Linked DNA regions of Homo sapiens: regions 2, 3, 4, 5, 6 and 7 are each linked to region 1. Evidence: promoter capture Hi-C in 16 types of primary human blood cells and fetal thymus (Javierre and others, 2016). All regions are on one chromosome and are shown on one strand. Each heading gives the region's core, a stretch centred on a gene start or on the middle of the fragment in contact. The rest is flanking DNA. Distances are from core to core; before and after follow the strand shown. Region 1 holds the start of EN1 (engrailed homeobox 1). Region 2 overlaps LOC107985940 (a long non-coding RNA gene). Region 3 overlaps LOC107985940 (a long non-coding RNA gene). Region 4 overlaps INSIG2 (insulin induced gene 2). Region 5 has its middle 24 kb from the start of THORLNC. Region 6 has its middle 82 kb from the start of THORLNC. Region 7 has its middle 110 kb from the start of THORLNC.

What was found. Contacts are between HindIII fragments. The CHiCAGO score rates a contact against its expected background, and 5 or more counts as called.
Region 2: a fragment that was not itself captured here is called in contact with the fragment with the promoter of EN1 in region 1 in 7 of 17 cell types (non-activated CD4 T cells, naive CD4 T cells, total CD4 T cells and 4 more); the score reaches 11.8 in non-activated CD4 T cells.
Region 3: a fragment that was not itself captured here is called in contact with the fragment with the promoter of EN1 in region 1 in 1 of 17 cell types (total CD4 T cells); the score reaches 10.4 in total CD4 T cells.
Region 4: a contact is called between a fragment that was not itself captured here and the fragment with the promoter of EN1 in region 1, in 2 of 17 cell types (naive CD4 T cells and total CD4 T cells). The highest score is 8.2, in naive CD4 T cells.
Region 5: a fragment that was not itself captured here is called in contact with the fragment with the promoter of EN1 in region 1 in 1 of 17 cell types (non-activated CD4 T cells); the score reaches 5.5 in non-activated CD4 T cells.
Region 6: a contact is called between a fragment that was not itself captured here and the fragment with the promoter of EN1 in region 1, in 4 of 17 cell types (naive B cells, non-activated CD4 T cells, M0 macrophages and 1 more). The highest score is 7.5, in naive B cells.
Region 7: a fragment that was not itself captured here is called in contact with the fragment with the promoter of EN1 in region 1 in 1 of 17 cell types (M2 macrophages); the score reaches 5.3 in M2 macrophages.

The regions. Positions count from the first base shown.
Region 1 is chr2:118,846,051-118,849,083 of GRCh38, reverse strand. It overlaps EN1 (engrailed homeobox 1), which reads left to right and starts at 1,436. Exons shown (of 2, transcript NM_001426.4): 1 at 1,436-2,778. The coding sequence starts at 1,917. The HindIII fragment of the contact is 11,695 bases long and covers 1-3,033 here.
Region 2 is chr2:118,061,043-118,064,075 of GRCh38, reverse strand. It overlaps LOC107985940 (a long non-coding RNA gene), which reads left to right. Exons shown (of 3, transcript XR_001739662.3): 2 at 1,060-1,278; 3 at 2,999-3,033. Among named protein-coding and RNA genes, the nearest start is that of INSIG2, 26 kb to the left of the region's middle. The HindIII fragment of the contact is 2,419 bases long and covers 397-2,815 here.
Region 3 is chr2:118,079,786-118,082,818 of GRCh38, reverse strand. The region is part of intron 1 of LOC107985940 (a long non-coding RNA gene); the gene reads left to right. Among named protein-coding and RNA genes, the nearest start is that of INSIG2, 7.2 kb to the left of the region's middle. The HindIII fragment of the contact is 5,040 bases long and covers 1-3,033 here.
Region 4 is chr2:118,100,840-118,103,872 of GRCh38, reverse strand. It overlaps INSIG2 (insulin induced gene 2), which reads right to left. Exons shown (of 6, transcript NM_016133.4): 3 at 552-676. Among named protein-coding and RNA genes, the nearest start is that of INSIG2, 14 kb to the right of the region's middle. The HindIII fragment of the contact is 2,499 bases long and covers 135-2,633 here.
Region 5 is chr2:118,160,499-118,163,531 of GRCh38, reverse strand. No RefSeq gene overlaps it. Among named protein-coding and RNA genes, the nearest start is that of THORLNC, 24 kb to the left of the region's middle. The HindIII fragment of the contact is 2,337 bases long and covers 385-2,721 here.
Region 6 is chr2:118,267,343-118,270,375 of GRCh38, reverse strand. No RefSeq gene overlaps it. Among named protein-coding and RNA genes, the nearest start is that of THORLNC, 82 kb to the right of the region's middle. The HindIII fragment of the contact is 518 bases long and covers 1,160-1,677 here.
Region 7 is chr2:118,294,152-118,297,184 of GRCh38, reverse strand. No RefSeq gene overlaps it. Among named protein-coding and RNA genes, the nearest start is that of THORLNC, 110 kb to the right of the region's middle. The HindIII fragment of the contact is 3,038 bases long and covers 19-3,033 here.

The DNA of each region.
Region 1 (3,033 bases), core at 187-2,686:
ACACGCCACCCCCGTCCCTCACATTCCCGGTTATGAGAAAATTTTGGGGGTGCCTCGACCAGGAAATAGCGAAAAAGAGATCGGCAGACGGGAGAATGATAGCAGCTGGAGGAACGGCATTTCCCTCAAACTAGGGAAGAACGCACAGAGCTGGAGCCGGAGGCACCCAGGGAGTTGGGAGCAATCCCAGGAAATTCAGTCACCCGGCAATTGAGGGAAACTCCCTGTTCACAACTTCAGCTAGCCAGGGCAAATACTTGGGGTGCAGCGCTTTCATTTATTTGATTTTACTTTGCAGGGAAATCTAACACAGAGGTTACCCTGAACTCTAAAAGCTAGGGCCTAGCGCGCATCCGCGTTCTGACTCGCCGGCCCCGGGGCCCTCCTGAGATTAATCTGCGTTGCCCGGACTCCCACTGCCAGGGAAGGTCCAGGCAACTGGCTCTGGGGCTATTCCTAGCCCTCTGGGCTTGGCTCTATGGCGCCAGGGCAGCTCCAGGGTGTTGTCGAAAGTCTGGACCGGGAAGGGCATGGGTGCGGATTCCCCACAAAGGGAAAGCAATGCAGCGGGCCGGCAGGAGACGTACAAACGTAAACGTGCGACGCTAGCTAGGCGCAGCGGGCCTTTCAGATTTTGCTATTTGTGAAAAACAAATTGCGCCTCTGAAAGTAACCAACTCTAGGTCTATTTCACATCACCGACCTCCCTGTCTCACTCCCCCTCCCTCCACTACACACACCCAAACCCACACCCACCCACAAACACACAAACCGGCAGTGACAACAACCACCCATCCTTCAATAACAGCAACCAGAGACAGAGGAGAAAATAAAAAGCTGAGTTTCTTAGGCGTGGGGGTGCAAAACAGCCAGGCTCCTGCCTACTGCCCCTGCTCCCGTAGCTCACAGACCCATAATCCTGCATTTCTCTAACAAGTTGTTTATGGAGTTGCTTCTCCATTTGCCTACATCCCAAAATTCACCCCTCCCGGGTTTCTTCTGCCCCCTCCTGAGTCCCGGCCTGAAGGAGGGGGAGGGACGCGGGTGCGGGCGCGGGTGGGGGAGGGCGGACCCGACGCACAGGGCCAGCGCCGAGGCGCCCCCTCTCCGCCAGCGGTTGACGCCCCCGGATTATTTATCCGCAAAGTCCCGCGCGCGCCCATTGGGCCGAGGCCCGAGTGTCAGCGCGAGTCCCGGCTCGCCATTGGCTCCGCACACGTGCGGCCCTGACTCACGTGCTTCCGGTTTGAAGGCAAAAAGTGTGCCTGGGTGATTTTTTTTTTAAGCGAGAGAGTTTGTGCAAAGATCCGAGCTGTCAGAGATTTGAAAAAAAAAAAAAAAAAAAAAAAAAAAAAAACAGCCCGGCGCTGGCGGAGACGCGCTCTCCCTGCAAAAAAAGCAAAGGCGATTAAAGGCGCTGCCAGCCTCACGCTCTGGGCACAGCTGAGCGTGACACTCGGGGAAGTCAAACCCCTCACTACTGCCTAGGAAGATGGCTAGACTTTAAATACTATTTTTTTCCCTTTAAGAAAAAAATTATTGGAGCTTTTTTTCTTGCTTTCTTTTTCCTTTTCTTTTTCTTTTTTTCCTTCATTTTTTTGGCCGTGGCTTACTCCCCATTTAAATCAAATCATTGAATCTGGTTGCAGAAAGAAAAAAGAAATAGCCAAGTGTCTCCATATCTGGATGTCTACAAATTAGAGAGGGAGAGACAGCGAGATCTATCTGCTAGATAAGAACGAGCGATCCAGGCCAGACGCCTGAGCTTTTTTCCTGCACCCGCCCCGTGCCTTCGCTGAGGCTTCGCCTGCCTCCTTCCTCCGCGCACCCCCACGGGCCGCTGGCAAAGTGGGGTGGGGAGCGAGGCGGTGGGGGCGGGGGCCGGCGCGGCGGCCGGGGCGGCGGGGCGGCCGAGCATGGAAGAACAGCAGCCGGAACCTAAAAGTCAGCGCGACTCGGCCCTCGGCGCGGCGGCGGCGGCGACTCCGGGCGGCCTCAGCCTGAGCCTCAGTCCGGGCGCCAGCGGCAGCAGCGGCAGCGGCAGCGATGGAGACAGCGTGCCGGTGTCCCCGCAGCCTGCGCCCCCCTCGCCGCCCGCGGCGCCTTGCCTGCCGCCCCTGGCCCACCACCCGCACCTCCCCCCACACCCCCCGCCCCCGCCGCCTCAGCATCTCGCGGCGCCTGCTCACCAGCCGCAGCCAGCGGCCCAGCTGCACCGCACCACCAACTTTTTCATCGACAACATCCTGAGGCCGGACTTCGGCTGCAAAAAGGAGCAGCCGCCACCGCAGCTTCTGGTGGCTGCGGCGGCCAGAGGAGGCGCAGGAGGAGGAGGCCGGGTCGAGCGTGACAGAGGCCAGACTGCCGCAGGTAGAGACCCTGTCCACCCGTTGGGCACCCGGGCGCCAGGCGCTGCCTCGCTCCTGTGCGCCCCGGACGCGAACTGTGGCCCACCCGACGGCTCCCAGCCAGCCGCCGCCGGCGCGGGCGCGTCTAAAGCTGGGAACCCGGCTGCGGCGGCGGCGGCGGCCGCGGCGGCAGTGGCGGCGGCGGCGGCGGCCGCAGCAGCCAAGCCCTCGGACACCGGTGGCGGCGGCAGTGGAGGCGGCGCGGGGAGCCCCGGAGCGCAGGGCACCAAATACCCGGAGCACGGCAACCCGGCTATCCTACTTATGGGCTCAGCCAACGGCGGGCCCGTGGTCAAAACTGACTCGCAGCAGCCTCTCGTATGGCCCGCCTGGGTGTACTGCACACGTTATTCGGATCGTCCATCCTCCGGTGAGTACCCAACTCCGGGCTGCGCCATGCCTTCTGGCCCCGCGGACCGCCCCAGAACGCCAAGCTGCGGCGCTAGGGAGAGCAAACCCGGCCTCGGGTACTCCAGTCTCTCACGCCTGCTTCCTCACCCCAGTTCCAGTCACAACCGAATGTTCATCCAGCTATGCGATCCTGGCCTCTGCGGCCACCACCCGAGAAGCTACAGCTCGTGGCACAGGAGGCTCGGGTCTCGATTCTTTGATTTTGAACTCTGAA
Region 2 (3,033 bases), core at 357-2,856, 790 kb after region 1:
AAAGACTTCAAGAGCTGGGAAGTTTTCAAGCATCTCACCTGACTTTGCCCTGTTCCCTGCCTCTTTCTCCTACTTGAGCCTTTGTTGACTCACCTGTAAAATGAGGATAATAATACCTACCACTAGAATCGCTGTGAAGATTAGAGAAAACATATATTCCACATGTTAAACAGTGTCTGGTGTGTAGTAATGCCCAGTCCATGGAGGATGCTGGTGCATCTATTAGTATCTGCTGCACTTGCCAATAGATGTTACCTTTTAGGCCTAACTTAATCTCTTTTCTTCTAAAATTATACAATGTAATGGTTAATAACTTTGGAGTCACTCCTGGGTTCAAATAACCGCTATATCACACCAATTTATGGGCTGTATGATCATGAGCAATTTAGTTAAGCTTCCAATGTCACAATTTCTCATCTACAAAATGGGAAAATAATTGTGCCTAATTAATAGACCTATTAAATAAGATAATGCATGAAAAATACCATGTCTGATTTTGCTCAAGAGCTTATCCCCATTGCCTAGTATAGTATCTGGCATAGAGCAAGCACTCAACAAATATTAATGAAGATTTAACTGTTTTATATAATTATTTTATTATTTAATTGTATATTAGTATTACATAGATATTACCATCATCATCATTGTAATCATCATCAGTAAACTTGTACTATTGATATCTCACAGCTTCCTTGGTGTAGAAGTGGTAGTCACATATTTAGACAAAAGTAGATTTTAACATTAAATGTACATGGACCCAAAGAGGGGAACTACAATAGACACAGGGGTTTACTTGAGGGTGAAGAGTGGGAGGAGGGTGAGGATGGAAGAACAACCTATAAGGTACTATGTTCACTACCTGGGTGATGAAATCATTTGTAGACCAAACCCCAGTGGCATGTAATTTACTCATGTAACAAACCTGCACCAGGTAGCCCCCAACCCTAAAATAAAAGTTGGAAGAAAAAAAAGTGGGTTTTGGTTAGGTCCTAGGCTGAAGTAGGAAAGTAATGTTTACTAATGATATCATCTATTCTGTTTAAATATTCATTTATTTAGGAAGACTTGACTGAGCCAGGCTCAGGGGATGTGCCAGGCTCTGGGGATACTATGAAAGCTAAAAGATACACAATCCCAGCTGTCATGGAGCAAAGAGTTTACGAGAGAGAGACTGATGCTAATCAAAGAAGGACACTAACAAATGAACCATTGTATAGCTTTGCCAAGGACCGTGAAGGAGAGAGACACAGCTCTGTGAAGGGGCTTTGATGTAGGGAGGTAAGTTGAAGTCTGAAGCAAAGGATGGAAAGGCCTGACCACATGGGGGCTTGTATGACATGTTTTGAAATGTATTTAATAGGGAGTAGGGGATTGTATCATGATAAAGTGTGTGTTTCCAAGAGCTTACCCTGATTACAATATGGAAGGTGAATCAGAACAAGACAAGGAGTTATAGGGAGATGTTAATGTCAATGATTTTGTACTACAGAAAATCCCAAGGAGGTGGTCTCCATGGTAATTCTGTCTTTGAATCTCAGCAGAAAGTTAGGTTGATGCATTGTTCATAGACACCAAAAAGATAAAGGGGAAGAGACCACTCCCCATGCCCAAATATACAAACTTTTCTTTTCACTATTAGTATCAATACTGAGGACAAGAGATACCACATAGGTCTCTGAATTTATTATTCTTCTCTGCCAATTTTACTGTGTCCACAAGAGAATAAAGCTATCCATATTTCCTGTTTTATATTATGGGCAGTCACATGCCCTCTAATTGGAGGATTGCATGCCAAGCCAATGGCCTGGCCTCATAAAACCTCACTAGCTATTATACTGATGGGGCCAGACTATGATGCAGAGTTGTGAAACTTATCTCTAAACCTTAGGTCCAAAAAGGACAGAAAAAAATAAATCATTTCTAGCTAGAGAGCTCTCATGGCAACCAACTTCTTAAAGGAGTAAGGCAATGAGTTTATTCATATTTCATCCTGCAAATATTTATTCAGCTCTTATTATGTGCCAGCCACCTCTTGCTATATCATGACATCTGCTATATCATGTGATTTAAGGGGGAGGGCTACCATTTATGAACTGACTGTATACTTTATATAGGTTATCTGATTTGTTCATCAAGACAACTCCACAAAATAGAAATTATGACCTCCACTTTAGGAAAGTTAGGATTTAAACCTAGATCTATTGACCACAAAACCCTTCCCCTTCCATTACACCATGTTGTTTACCAGAAAGGAGTCCCTTTTCAGAGATAACTCCCCAAGGAGGCCAGAAACTCTGCCATTAGTGAGTTTCCTTTGTGCCAAGATTCATCCTGTCTCCAGTACCCTCTTTTTAAAAACCACAGCAGGATTTCTCAACCTCAGCACTACTGGCATTTAGGACTGGGTAATTTTTTTGTTGTGGGGGCCATCCTGTACCTTATAGGATATTTAACAACAACACTGACCTTTACCCACTAGATGTCAGTAGCACCCCAGTTGTGATGACTAAAAATGTCTCTGGACATTGCCAAATCTCCCTGGGGGAAGACAAAGCAGAGGAGGAGAAGGTAGTGTGAACGGCCAAGAAAGCAGAGTTGCAAGAAAGAAATGATTGGCAAAGTCAGCTGTTGCTGAGAAATTGTGTAAGATACAGACAGGAGCAAAATGATATTTGAGTTTGGTGATGAAGAGATCCTTGGTGACCTCAAGTAGGGCAGTGTCAGAGGGCTGGTAGGGGCAGGAGCCTGAGGGTGGGGAACATGTGGAAAGCATAGGAGGAGGGTCAGCGGGGAGTGACTCTCCTTTCAATAAGCTTGAGAATACTATAGAAGTGAGGCTGTGCCAGCTCTGGGCCCAGGACTCAAGCTTCTCGTTTCTGAATCTTGGAATACTCTCTCTGGGGTCCTGAGCAGCCATATGAGACGTTCAAAAAGCCTGAGACCACCATACGGTGATCATGGTCTCAAATGAACCCAACATTTCAGCTGTGCCTGCCAGGCAGCAGACGTGCAGCTGAAGCTGTCTTGGAGCCT
Region 3 (3,033 bases), core at 322-2,821, 770 kb after region 1:
ACCATCAAAAGAATTTCCCATCAAAGTAAAGAAATTATGTGAAATGATTTTAAATTTAATACTCTTGGAATTTGAGAAGCATTACTTTTTTTAAAGGCTAGGAATTAATACTTTGGTAATGATTGGAGAAAACTGAAAGAACTTTAAGAAGCAGATCTTAGATTTATAAAATTAATTTTGGTATTGAGCTGTAATAGAACCATCATCAGAAAAGCCATTCCAAACTGAGAAACAGTATGTGTAGCTCATCAATGGCCTGAAGACTCCTGGTGATGTTTAATATTCTCAGAGGATGTATTAGCTACTCTAGCTTCAGTGGATCCCATTTCTCCTTTTGGAGATTGATCCAGTGTCCTCTCCTGGAAATAAGAGCTCAGTTTTATTTGAGGAAGCCTGGGGCATGTGCACTGTTTAGAATAAGGCATATCTGCCTTGCAGGCTGTGCTCTCCACTACCAGCTGCATATTCTTGGACAAGTTATTTCTCTGTTCTTCAATTTCTTCATCATACAAGTGCCTCCTGTTGTAAGGAGTAAGTGTGATAAAGTAGTGGTAAAAGGTCATAGTTTTGCAGATTTATTCTTATTCGCTTTAATATTATCTTTGACAAATGACCTTCCTATGTCTGTTGAATGCCTTCAGTTTGGGAATTCCTCACCTCTTGAGGAAACTGCTTTTATCTTTGCATAGGTCCAGGTACAAGAGAGTTTTTCCTAGGGTTCAAGTCTCTCCAGCTTCTTTATGGCTCCCACACATTGCCACTCAATTCTGTGTGCCAGCCTTTAAATTGTTAAATCTGCTTCCTGCTCCATGCTCCCCGAAGATCCTTGTCATGTCTAAATATACCCAATTTCTTTAGTCATTTTCCATATGACTTGTTCTCCATCCCTTAACCATAGTAGTTGCTTTCTTCTGGATATGCTTCAGTCTGTCACTATCCCTTCACAGGACCACTTTCAGAACAAACACCAGAGCTGCACCATCACATCTTTTGTTCTATATACTTCTTTTAACATAACATCCCATCACAGTAGCATTTTTGTCGGCCACATCCCACTATTAAGTTGTATAGAGCTGTTAAATTTAGACAACTCTTAAATCCTTTCCATGCGCACAAACCATATTCTTTCTATCCTGTTCTTTTATTGTTGGGGTAAAACTTTGGGGGCATTTGGATTTTTTTTTCTATTGGGAGTGAAGGCTAGGTCCTAAACAAAAGGGCTTCCCTGTTGAATTTCTCCTTTTTAAAACATGTCCATAGTTACTACCTATCAAGATACTTTTGGTACAGATTCCAGCATTCAGTATAATAGTGCGCATTGCAACCTGCGTCAGCACGCCATCCTGCCATCAGAACCTTATTTGTAATAAACATTTTCGATAATGCAACACTAAGGACAGGGGCCTGTGGTGGACTCTGGAGGTGTGCCTTTTGGTTAACATAAATCCATTCATCAGAAATCATTATTTGCCTACAGCCATTCTCACTATGTGCCCAGCTCGTATTCAGAATCATGTCATTAGAGATTGGTAAATTCATATAGAAATTCAGGTTAACCACTTCATCTTCATTAACTCATGCTGACTCCTTTGCTGAGGCTTATAAATCATCTCTTTGAGGATTTGTTCTGAAAGATAACCCAGATCTGATGCCCACCTACCTAGCATTCACAGGATTCACCTCTGTTTTTAGAAGAAGACATTTACCCATTTTCAGGATTCCCTAATTCTCAAGATTCTTCATGATGATTGACAGGAGTTCTGTTTTATCCTAAAGTTCTTTTAGTGTCTGAGAAACGTAACTCATCTAGGTTGTGAGACTTACACACAGCTTCAGTAGCCAGTGCTTACTTATAGATTCCTCACCTACCTTATTTTTTAAAAACCAGTGTTAATGTTGCCCTTCTCTATGTGACAATTGTTCATCTGGAGAGAAAATAGGAATTAAAGCGGTTAGGGAGTTCTCCTTTCCTCCTGTTATCTGTTAACATTGTGAGTGTCTAGGACTACCAGGCTCCTTTGACCTTGGGAATATTTCTGTGTCACACATAAAAATGCGCCCTGTATGGCTCATCACATCAGTCCTGACCCAATTACACTGGTATTGTTTGTAGTGTGCAGTCATGAATGCTTGCACTCCACAGCCTAACCTGTTTCCAGCCTGACCTTAATACTTACTTTCATCTTTCATCCTTACTTCACTCCTTAGACCTGATACTTATCACACTTTGAATTTGTTCTTCGGTCTCCCAGGAGTAAATGCCTCACATCAGCAAATGTGTGCTTTTCTCTGCTCTGACATTCTCACCAGGTGTTTCAGTTATTCATTGCTTTGTATCAAACCAGGTAGCAGCTGTATCACCTCTTAAGTTACACATGGGCACTTCTGCCATACTGTGTTGGCCAACCAGTCACTGAGATTATCCCAGAGAGGAGAAAAGAGGAGATCTGGACTCCACCTTTCAGTGAGAGGAGAGTGAGAACATTTGCGGACAAGTTTTAAAGCCTCCACACTAGGATTAGCAGAGCCCAACAAACAGAGCCTAGGCTCCATGCAGTAAAGATATTTGTTACTTGTTCTCCCTTCTCCGTAGAAGTGTAGGCTTCCTTTTACTAACTTAGCATTCTTCATATAGCTCACTTACATTCTGGACATTAGCATCTAATATTCTTACAGGCTTATATTGCTACTTTATCTTTAAATGTGATTACTTGTCTATTTTCTGTTTAAATTCATCAGAGAACATCCTCTGAGCCCATATTAGTTTCTTAGGAGCTCCTCCATTGCTTCCACCCCACTGTATTGCCAAAACTTAAACTTTGAAAATATTTAATTTCTTTTCTTAGCACCCCTTTAAATGGATTCTACTAATCCTTTTCTTATTCTCTCTGTACAATCCACTTTTACACACTAGATATTCGCATCTTGTTAATGCTTGCCATCCCTTTCTTAGGCTGAAGAGGGTATAATGGAGTGGTTAAGAGTCAGACAGACCTGGGTTTTAATTCCTGCTCTCCCTTAATATCTGTTTAA
Region 4 (3,033 bases), core at 135-2,634, 750 kb after region 1:
AACTTTGAAAATATGTACTAGGGTAGAAACTTATTTTTTGGCCAAGGTCTAAGTTGGTATTTCTACTTATGCCGTTTATGTGGTTTGTCGGTATTGATTAAAACCAATGCATCTACCTTTAAAAAAAAAAAGCTTCTTTAAGTTAAGAAAAACAAAAGACAAAATAGCACCTGAAGCTACCACATGTACTTATTAGCAATTCTTAACAAAGAAAGAGAGGAAAAAACTCCTCTGAAAATGTACCTGTTCCATTTTTGGATTAACTACACAAAAGTAATTAAGTAACCAAATTTAAGAAAAACAAGTAAAGTTTTCAAATTTGCAAAGTTTCTAAGTGATAGTGAAAAATACACAATGAAATGAAAGGCTATACCCCACTTTATAATTGCACAGCTGCTACACCGATGTTTCAACAATATGGTTGACATTCTTCTTCTGACTAAGTGGGCATATCATAATTTGACAACAGTGAAGTTGTAAGGGGCTGTTTAACCTTTGGTTTGTTGGAAGCCACTTTGTTATTATGCATTTCATTACAGAGTAAAGGATACAGCACTGGCATGATTTATACCAACAAAGACTGCTACACACCGCATTACACTGGACCACTCTCTTTTAAATTTATGTGGTTCTCCTAGATGTCTGTCAATGCAGGGGTATAATAACCCAATCACAGCTGTAGGGAAAAAAGAAAAAAATTAAGTTACCTCCAATGTTGTACTGGCAACACTTAAGCTAAAAGAATCACTACAACCACCACAAGCATTTTAAAGATTCTTAAAAAAAAAAAAACAAAAAAAAAAGTTATTTCACATCAATCACCGATATTTTTTAACTTACCTTCCAAAGGAAATGAAATGAGGATAACACCAATGAAGAAAGTATTGCAAATGATTACAACAACATTCTAAATTATAATCAACAAAATACTCTTCAAATGTATGATTCACAATTTAGCAGACTGGACTAAATGATTCGTGCTACTAAATGATTCATGCTACTTTTCTACTACTGATACCTACGAGACCTGAAAAAAGTATCAAACCAGTTAGCAGTTAAGTAATGTTCTCTCTAAACTCCAAACCATAAAATATTTATTATATGCCACAAATCTAAGAGAATCTAGAAGTATAAAAGTATACAACAAGCTCATCATACACACAATGTTCTGAAGGTTCTGGCTGGCCTCTTACGTAGATCAGTCTCGCCCCTACCAGCTTCCCGTTTTAGTCTTCAGCATGTAGCACCTTTTACTGACACTCCTTTCCACTCTAGCCCTTTAATGAGGCTGTAGGTCATATTGTCAAAGCAGGAAAACTCACAACAGAAATCTACAGGTAAGACTCATTCTGCACATAGAAACAATGGAGGAAACAAGGTGTAGAGGTATTTAAAATTTTCAGTTAAATTTTAAGTGCACTGTTAGAAGAAGAAATCATCTTAGTACTTCTCTTAGTTTTGGAAAGAACACTTTGAATGTTGTGTCATTAATTATACATAACTGTATATAAAATGTCAATGATTGAGTCCCAAAATATTCTCATCCCTTTCTTATTTCTCAAACCTCAACATTTTATTCATTTAGTGGGAAGGAATTTTAAGTGCTAAATTAGTTATTAAAAAGACTATTTAATGAAAATATTCTAATCTTCCTAAAAACAGGATGATTATGTTGTGCCATTCTGGCAATAAAGACACTACTGTCACATCAGTTGAAAAGCATGTTTAAAATAACCAATACCACTTAAGAGGAATCATGAAATTACAACGCCAAAATCTAAGTGCCTGAGGGACAAGAGGCCCTCCCCCTACCCAGTATTAGCCAGCTGTATCTCACAGGCAATGCATTCACTCTTCGAAGAAAAACAGAAACCAATTAGTATCAAAAATCACAGCCTAGCAGACCAATGGTGCAGCATTTGAAAAAGGCTGTGTGACCACCCTTCTATCTCGAGATGAGATGCTGCAATACTGTATGCATTTTCTAGTCCACAACTCTTTTGAGTTAGGCATGTGCTGAGTATAGATGGCTCACAGAACATCAAGAGATTAAGAACATATCTCGGCAATGCAGAGCTCCAATAACTATTAGTAAATCTAGAAGTTTCACACTATATTCCTATTTAAAAATCTGCTCCAAAATCCTGACAAGATTAACTGACAGGATTTTAAAATTTCTATACAAATAAAATGGCAACAAGCATCCCTAACAGTTGAAATGTAGTTAAACGAATATCACCTCTTTTTTTCTCAAGGGGTCATAAAACTAACAGCTCATTTGTCACCCCCATCCCCCCACCATATATATCCTCCCTTTGCCTGTTGCTGAGTAAAGTCAACTAAGAGCAGACATTCCAAGTCAATTTTCCTGAGCAACTGATGCCTAGGTAAAGAATTATTACATAGAGAATACTGACATGTATGTGCAAAGGTATAAATAAGTAAAATCGACTATATTTTTATGCATGTGATGTCAGACTTGCAAGTGAGAGACAACTGAGGAGAGAAAGCAAAAACACAAAAAGAAATTTAAACTGCCACACTGCCAACCCTGGGATTTGCCAATAAAAATCAAATCCATTGAGTATGCATGGTTCTCAGTTGCTCACTGAGAGGGAGAATTCGAAGAAGCTTGTCACTTCCCATTAAATGTCTTCTTTCTTTCCTTTAAATAAAGGCATGGCAGAGTCTGATAGCAATATATACAACACTGTGAGGTTCCACTGTTTGAGAGCTCAACAGAGTATGTCTGGGCCTCTTTTCCTCTTCTTGTACTTTTTTTTAAAAAAAACAAGAAAGACTGTTAAAATCATGCCTGTGTAAAATCATATGCAAACACAATCCTGCTTATAAATCAAATGGTTCTCTGATGCAAAAATCACATTTCTTGTGATACCTTTAAGTTATTTCCCAGTGACTAGTTACAGTCTACCAAAGCTAAACACTAAAGAAGTTTGTAAAATATCAGTAGTAAGTCATCACTTTTTTATGGGAATGTGCTTAAATGCAGGGAGGCACTAAAAGGAACACAGT
Region 5 (3,033 bases), core at 304-2,803, 690 kb after region 1:
CCAAGACTGGGCAATTTACAAAAGAAAGAGGTTTACTGAACTCAGAGTTCCACATGGCTGGGGAGGTTTCACAATCATGGTGGAAGGTGAAAGGCACATCTCACATGGCAGCAGACAAATGAAGAGAGTTTGTGCAGGGAAACTCCCCTTTTTAAAACCATCAGATCTCGTGAGCCTGATTCACTATCACGAGAACAGCTCAAGAAAGACTTGCCCCCATAGTTCAATCACCTCCCACTGGGTTCCTGCCATGGAACATGGGAATTGTGGGAGTTACAATTCACGGTGAGATTTCGGTGGGGACACAGCCAAATCATATGAATTTTCTACTATTCTATATGTTGTCTTTTCACTCTTGATTGTGTTCTTTGCTGTGCAGAAGCTTATTAGTTGGATGTAGTCCCACTTGTTTATTTTGTTGTCGTTGCCTCTGCTTTTGCTGTCATATCCACAAAATCATTGCCAAGACTATTGTCATGGCACTTTCCCCCAATGTCTTCTTCTAGGCGTTTTATAGGTTTGTGTCTTACATTCAATCATTTAAACCATTCTGAGTTGATTTTTGCGTATGGTGTCAGATAAAGGGCCAATTTCATTCTTTTACATGTGGATATCTAGTTTTCTTATCACCATTTGTTGAAGAGATGATCTTTTTCCAACTGTATATCCTTGGCACCCTTATTGAAGATCAATTAAACATATATGCATAGTTATTTTTTTCTGGGCTCTCTATTCTGTTTCATTTTTCTATATATCTATCCATGACAATTCTGTTTTAATTATTATAGCTTTGTCCTATATTTTGATGTCAGAGAGTGTGATGACTGCCTTGTCATTCTTTCTCAAGATTTATTTGGCTATTGGTCTTTTGTGGTTCCAAATTATTTTTAGAATTTTTTTCTTTTTTTAACTTTTAGGTTCAGGGGTACATGTTACATAGGAAAACAAGTGCCATGGGGGTTTGTTGTAAAGATTATTTCATCACCCAGATATTAAGCAGAGTACCCAATAACTATCTTTTCTGCTCCTCTCCCTCCCCCCAACCTCCACCCTCAAGTAGACCTGTCTGTTGTTTTATTCTTTGTGTTCATAAGTTCTTATCATTTAGCTCCCACTTATAAGTGACAACATGTGGTATTTGGTTTTCTGTTCCTGCTTTAGCTTGCTAAGGATAATAGCCTTCAGTTCCATCTATGTTCCTACAAAAGATGTGTTCTTGTTCTTTTTTGTGGCTGCATAGTAGAATTTTGTTTTTCTATTTTGGTAAAAAATACTAACGAAATTTTTTTTAGGAATTGCATTGAATCTGCAGATTGTCTTAAAAAGTATGCACATTTTAACAATATTAAGTCTTCCAATCCATGAACACACAGATGACTTTCCATTTGCTTGTGTCTTGTTTAATTTCTTTCAACAATGCTTTGTAGTGTTTGGTATACAAGATTTTTGCTTCCTTAGTTAAGTTTATTTCTAGGTATTTTATTCTTTTTGGTGCTAGTGTAAATGGGAATGTTTTCCTAATTTCCATTTCATATTCATTGTTAATGTGTGTGCAAGTGATATTTGTATGTTAATGTTGTATTCTGAAACTTTACTGAATATGTTTATTAGTTCCAACGAAAATTTTTATGAAGTCTTTAGGGTTTTCTATACGTAAGATCATGTCATCTGCAAATAGGAGCAATTTTACTTCTTTGTGATTTAAGTACCTTTTTGTTTGTTTTTTGGCCTAATTGCTCTGGATAGGAATTCCGATGTTGCATTGAAGAGTGAGGGAAATCAAAGTATTTCATCCCCAAATATACTTCCTTGACATATTTTGAGGTGGCTGTTCAGCAAGTCTGCAAACAGAGGTAGCCCTGCAAAGCTGTCTTTGGAGGGGAGATTTGCATTTGTACGAAATCTTCATTGATGCTGCCAGGCTTTCTCTGGGGCTCTCCCTCGTCCTATCTACAAAAGATTAACTGAGAGTATAATACATTTAAAGGTCTGAAAGTCCAGGTGCAGTGGTTCATGTCTCCAATCCAAGCACTTTGGGAAGCCAAGGCAGGAGGATCACTGGAGTCCAGGAGTTCAAAATCAGCATGGGCAATCTAGTGAGACTCCATCTCAAAAAACAAAACAAAAAAAAACGGTTAGCCAGGTGTGACGGCGTGTACCTGTAGTCCCAGCTACTTGAGAGGCTGAGGCTGGAGGATTGCTTGGGACGAGGAGTTCAAGGCTGCAGACAGCCATGGTTGTGCCACTGAACTCCAGTCTGGTCAATAGAGCAAGACCCTGTCTCCACACACATGCAAAAAAAAAAAAAAAAAAAAAAAAAAAAAAAAAGATCTGAAGAAAACATTCATTCATTATTCATTCTCTCTGAAGGCTACTACCTGTGAGGTTTCACTTACATAGCAGGACCACCTTTGTTAGCCAGGCTTCCTCTTCTCCCCCTCCCATAATCTGTTTTGCTGATATCCAACCCCCATTCCTTCTGTAACCTCAAGATGGCACATAAGGTTCTGAAACCTACTGGGTGATTGGGGTAATTATGCTGTGGTTCTCTCCCATATACAAGTTAATAAATTTGTATGCCTTTTCTCCAATTAATCCACCTTTATCAGTTGATTTTTCAGTGAACCATCTGAAGATAAAGAGTAATTTTCCCTTGGCCCCTACAATAGAAAAGGTGAAAGTAAGCATCCTTGCCTTATTCCTAATCTTAGAGGAAAAGCTTTTAGTTTTTTACTATTGAGTGCGATGTTAGCTGTAGGCTTTTTATAGATGGTCTTCATTATGCTGAGATATTTTACTTCTGTTCCTAGTTTGTTGAGAGTTTTTATCATGAAGGGGTGTTGAATTTTGTCAAATGCTTTTTCTGCATCAATTGAGACAATCATGTGATTTATATCCTATATTCTGTTAATGTGGTGTATCACATAAATTGATTTTATATCCTTGCATCTTAGGGATGAATCCCACTTGGTTATGATGTATGATCCTTTTAATGTTTAATTCAGTTTGCTAGTATTTTGTTGCATCTATTTT
Region 6 (3,033 bases), core at 169-2,668, 580 kb after region 1:
AGATTGAGGAGAGTTTTCCTGAGAGAAACGATTGGTAAGTATGATAACTCCACAGACACAGGGGGAAAGGACAGGCTTGGGGGACAAAATTGGGTTCAAATTTCAACGCAGCCAACTGCTTGCCATGTGACCTTGGACAAGCTCATTTGCCTCTAGGAGTCAGTTTCTTCATTGGTGAGTGGGAAGAAAGTGCCTCCAGTGGCACTGCTGCGAGCTTTCAATGATGAGACGCGGGTGTCAGACACTCAACACGGTGAGCAGGGGAGTGTTGTACACATCTGTCATCTGTGGTTGCCCAAAACTTCTGGAACACTCCCTTTGCATTTGGATTGTTCCCTGAATGTGAAACCTACCTTCCCATCAGAGATTCCCCAGAACCACATTTTCCAGCTTCCACTGCCATTAGAAGGCAAATGTGACTCAATTTTGCTGATCAGATGCCCCTGCAGTAAGCTTTGATTTGGAGCAGTTATAGGATGGACGAGGTGGGGCGTGGCCCTCTGTTTTGCTGGCAGAGGGTGGCAGCGTGCCTGGAGAGGGGACAGCTAAGGTGCCAACTTCCTGGTGGCTGCAGAGGAGGCAGCTGCTTGGCAGGCCAGTTCTGCAGTGGGCACTGGGAGTTCCTCCCGAACACCCTGCCTAGAATCTATTTCTTCTGTCCTCCCAGTAGTTCTATGCATTTCCTCTACCCATAAATATATCGCTTTCTGCTAAAACTGGCTAGAGTGGCCTGTGTTACCTGCCATATAGAGCCTGACCCATAGAGGGAGCGAAATGGCCACTTCATCTAAGTGCTGGCAGAGGTAAGTGTTGACACGATGACTGTCAAGAGGCTACTATGATAACCCAAGTAGGAAAGACGAGACCAGGGAACTCCAACAGGTACTTATTTCTAGGAATCTACCACCTATATGTCCCCCGAATCTCCCTCTACTCTCCATCCCATTGACAACCCCTTGGGCTGCATCCATAGTCCTTCCCCAAGATGGCCACAGTAGCCCTTGGTGAATCTGTCTGCCTCAGGATCACATCCTCACCAGCAGCCGGGGTGAGCTTTCAAAAGCAGCAGTCATCTCACATCCCCTGCTTAAACATTTCCTGGAGTTTCCTTTGTATTTAGGACAAAGTCAGAATTTCTTATCGTGGCCTACTAGAAGCTTCATGATCTGCAACCTCCTCCCCTCCATCTCTCCCGTCCACCTCCCCTTCTGACACAGTGCCTTAATCCATGCTTCACTTCTAGAAGATCCTTCCCTTCCCCTACCCCACAGGCTTTGAAGATCCTCAGCCAGTACCTCTGCCTTTCCTCTTTTCGTGCCTGGTGAACTGCACTTTGCTTCCTCGGGCAGCCTCCACTGTCCCTGGGCTCGGCTAGGCCTGCCCAAGCACTCAATTCTCCCCTTTCATAGCTCCCAAGCTCCTTTTAGGGAGTGCTCATTTGGCGTCTGTCCACAGAAGACTAGTGCTCCCTGTCCATCGTGTATGTTGTTCCTGACATGCCCTCAGTCTGGAGGGGAACATGACTCAGTTAGTGCACGTGATGTGATGAGTGCCATTTCAGAGCTAAAATAGTTTGGAAGTGAACGAACCTTCTCCACGCTCATCCTGTACCCATCTACCAATGGAAGGAAAGGACGAGCAACCCTGGGGGTGGCAAGGCTCCAGGTGGAAGAAGCTTGGCTCCCTGAATGCCTATTTTGAAGCCTGCCTGTCAAATACCTACACTGAATTGATAGGACATAAGCCAAGAATAAACTTGTATTATATTAAAACACTGAGTATTTGGGTAGCCAGCTTTACTCTATCTAACACAGCCCTGCTAGAGTCTTGAGGAGAACATGGAGCCTGTCCTCTGCACAGCTGCATTCTCAGCACTGAGCACACTTCCTGACCCAGAGTAACGGCCCCATAAGCATGGGTTTCATGAGTGACAGAGAAAGAAATCTATAGGCCAAGAGAACAGATAGTACTATAGCTGCAGGATGCAGGCGTGGCAGAAACCAAACTAATTCAAATACCAGGAGGGTTTAAGAAGAGAAAGGGGCACGTCTGTTAGTGGGGCCCATCAAAGACTGAGAGGACAGCCGTGCTGGTGCACGAAATACAGGGCCAGAGAGGAGACAAGTTATTGCATTTTTTGTACAGCCACCACTCGCATGTCAAACTCTCATTTCTTTCTCCCAACACGAGTTATACATCCAGGCGGAGTTCCTGGCATGATCCTCCAGAGAGAGGAAAACAGTGCATGTATTTTTCTCCCCATCATAAATACCTGAATGACTTGATGGCTCAGTTGAAAGCACTGAAGTGTAGGGACAATTTCCTCTTTCAATGCCTGTATATACATCTGCTTATGTGTGTATTTAGAGTGTGCATATGTATGTGGAGAATGAAGCTCGGCTCAGTAAAACTAAACTGATCTCAAATATACAATGTGATCACGTTTCCTGGAAGGGAAATAATAAACCCTTCTCAGGATTATAAAATTTTGGAGCTGGAAGGAACCTTAGAAACTATCCAATTCAGACCACTCATTTTACAATTGGAGAAACTGAGGCCAGGAAAGCCAAAAGCCTTGCTCCAGACTTACCAGTTGCCTGGTACAGAGGCAGAGCTGGTCTCCAGCTTCCCACTCCAGTGCTCTTTCCACTTTCTTAGGGTGTAAGATTTTATCTGTAGGTAGGGAGGATTAATAAGGCTAGTATTCTTCTGTCTACTGTCGAAGGCATTAGATTCTAAAGGATGGCTCGCAAGTGACCTCAGGACCTGGCCTTATAAGGGTCTGTCTCTACTGGTCAGCAGGATGTCCAGCAGCCACTGGTCTTGATCTTGTGTCCACGTCCCAAGTGCCTTTGTTCTAGGTCCTTTCCCTGTGTCCCTCTAAATTGTGCTTAACCCCACTGGTAACCCTCATGGAAGATAATGGTTACCATTTCTTAAGCCCTGTGGTGTGTTCCAGAAACTGTGGCAAGTACTTTACATAAATTATTGCCCACAGTTCTAACCACAACACTAGCAGGTAGGTGTGCTGTG
Region 7 (3,033 bases), core at 288-2,787, 550 kb after region 1:
CCCCAAGCCTTGGAAGCTTCCATGTGGTGTTCTGTGTGGGTGCCCAGAAGTCAAGAATTGAGGTTTGGGAACCTCCACTTAGATTTCAGGGGATGTATGGAAACACCTGGATGTCCAGGCAGAAGTTTGCTACAGGGGTGGGGCTGTCATGGAGAACTTCTGCTAGGGCAGTGCAGCAGAGAAATGTGGGGTTGGAGCTCCCAGACAGAGTCCCTACTTGGGCACCGCCTAGTGGAGCTGTGAGAAGAGGACCACCATCCTCCACACCCCAGAATGGTAGATCCACCGTCTGCTGGCATCATGTGCCTGAAAAAGCCACACTCAACATCAGCCCATGAAGCAGTTGTGAGGGAGGCTGTACCCTGCAAAGCCACAGGAGTGAAGCTGCTCAAGGCCATGGGAACTCACCTCTTGCATCAGTGCGACCCGGATACAAGACATGTAGTCAAAGGAAATCATTTTGGAGCTTAAAGATTTGACTGTTCTGCTGGATACTGGACTTGCATGGGGTCTGTAGCCCCTGTGTTTTGACCAAGTTCTCCCATTTGCAATGGCTGTCTTTACCCAATGCCTGTACCCACATCCTAGATCCCCACTGTATCTAGGAAGTAAGTAACCTGCCTTTGATTTTACAGGCTCATAGGCAGAAGGGACTTGCCTTGTCTCAGATGAGACATAGAACTGTGGACTTGTGAGTTAATGCTGAAATGAGTTAAGGCTTTGGGGGACTGTTGGGAAGGTATGATAGATTTTGAAATGTGAGGACATGAGATTTGGGAAGGGCAGGGTTTGGCTGTGTCCCCACCCAAATCTCATCTTGAATTGTAACTCCCACAGTTCCCATGTGTCATGGGAGGAACCCAGTGGGAGGTGATTGAAATATGGGCGACGGTTTTTGCTGTGCTGTTCTTGTGACAGTGAATGAGTCTCATGAGATCAGATGGTTTTAAAAATGGGAGTTTCCCGTCACAAGCTCCCTGCCTGCTGCCATCCATGTAGGACGTGACTTGCTCCTCTTGCTCCTCTTGCTCCTCCTTGCCTTCCACCATGATTGTGAGGCCTCCCCAGCCGTATGGAACTGTAAGTCCATTAAACCTCTTTTTCTTTCCAGTCTCGGGCATGTTTTTATCAGTAGCATGAAAACAGACGAATACAGTCCCTAACTAGCCTTCCTACAGCACTAGGGCAGGTGGATAAGTTGGAGACTTCGGGGACATCTGGATTTTAGGTACTTTCAGCTGCTGGCATGGAGCTATGAAGGGTTGCTGGGGCACACATTTGTGAAAGGCTGCCTTCTTTTCCTAGTGCCAGCTTCTGTGATCACTGATGGGCAGCAGGACCAATGGTAGGAAAGAAGAGCTGGACACAGGGAGGGAACAGCATGTGGAACACGGATCCACTGACACCTGTGAATCTGTCCCCACCACTCACTTCCTCTAATCATGGTGACATCCAGCATGTGATGGCTGCTGCTTCATGTCCACCTCTCAATCTTACATGGATTCTCTTTGGACTGGCTGTAACTCCAAACCATACAGGGAAAGAGATTTGGAAACATAGTTTCAATGTAACCAAGGAGACCAGTAGAAAATCACAGTAGAAAATCAGCACCATGGAACCACTCATGGAAGAGGATTCCAGAAAACATAGTTCTGAGTTAAGCAAGCTGATACAGTACAAAACCACTGAAAGAGATGAGAAAACAATGCAGAAAGTGGAACAAACGTGTAAAGAGAAAAGAGAGAAAAGTTAAAAGTTTAAGATCTAGTCCAAGAAGCCCAATATTCAAATGATAGAAGTGCTTGGAAAAAAGAATAAACTAGCAGAAAAAAAATTATCCAGCAATTAAGAAAACACCTCAGAAGGGAAGAGAATTATCCTCCAAGTTGGTAGGCTTATCTGGTATTCATGATGAAGGGCTCATTGGGTATGAAGTGCAATGAATACAAGAGAATCAAGACACATAATTGAAATTTTGAAACACTATAAGCAAAGATAAGATACCAAAAGTCTGTAGGAAAACAGCATAGCAGGTCACATAGTAGAGACTGAGAATCCAAAATAACAATATTGGAGATTCAAAGATAATTAAACAATGCCTTCAATATTCTAAGAATAATTATTTTGAATTTTCAATCTAGGATTCTATACTTAGTAAAAATAATCAACTTTATAGACAGAATAAAGACATTTTTAGGCAAATAAGACAAAAAAATGTACTTCTTGTGTACCCTTTCTGGGAAAGCTACTAGAGTATATACTCTGGAAAAACCAAATAGGGGAAAAAATACAACAGAATACAGGAATTCAATGCTGGAAAGTAGCAAAGGAAAATCTCAGGATGACAATTACATAGCAGATCTAAGAAGTTATTCATTCAGACCAGAACAAAAGTCCACTGTCTTCAAGGAAATAGTGGAATCGACACATTGACATTGTAGAAAATAATGGTGTATTTTTGAGCGAGCTATTGGAAACTTTGGGGAAAAAAAAAAAGCCAGGGAAATAAAATCATAAAGCCATTGTTAATTCCAGGAAAGATGAAAAATGAAAGTCTGAAAAAGAAAATGCAATCTAGTAAAATATCTAGTCTGTTAATTTTTTTGTATAGTGGTGATGATACAAATTTTGACTATCAATTTAACAAACAATTCTGGTATAATAATATTGAGATGACAAAGAAGTGAACGTGGGAATGGAAGTTCATGCAACTGTAATGATAGAGTATTATTGCTATGTATATAGGATTATTTTCTTAATTTATTTTTCAGATACCTCATTGTCAGTGTGTAGAAACCCTACAGATTTTTGTAAGCTGATTTTTTTATTCTGCAACTTTGCTGAATTCATTTATTGGTTCTAATAGTGTTTTGGATAAATTATTTAATGTAAGATTATGTCATCACCAAACAGTGACAGTTTCACTTCCTGTTTTTATTTGGATGCCTTTTATATCTTTCCCTTGTCTTTCAGCTCTGGCAAGGACTTCCAATACTATGTTGAGAAGCAGTGAGGGTGGGCATACTTACCTTG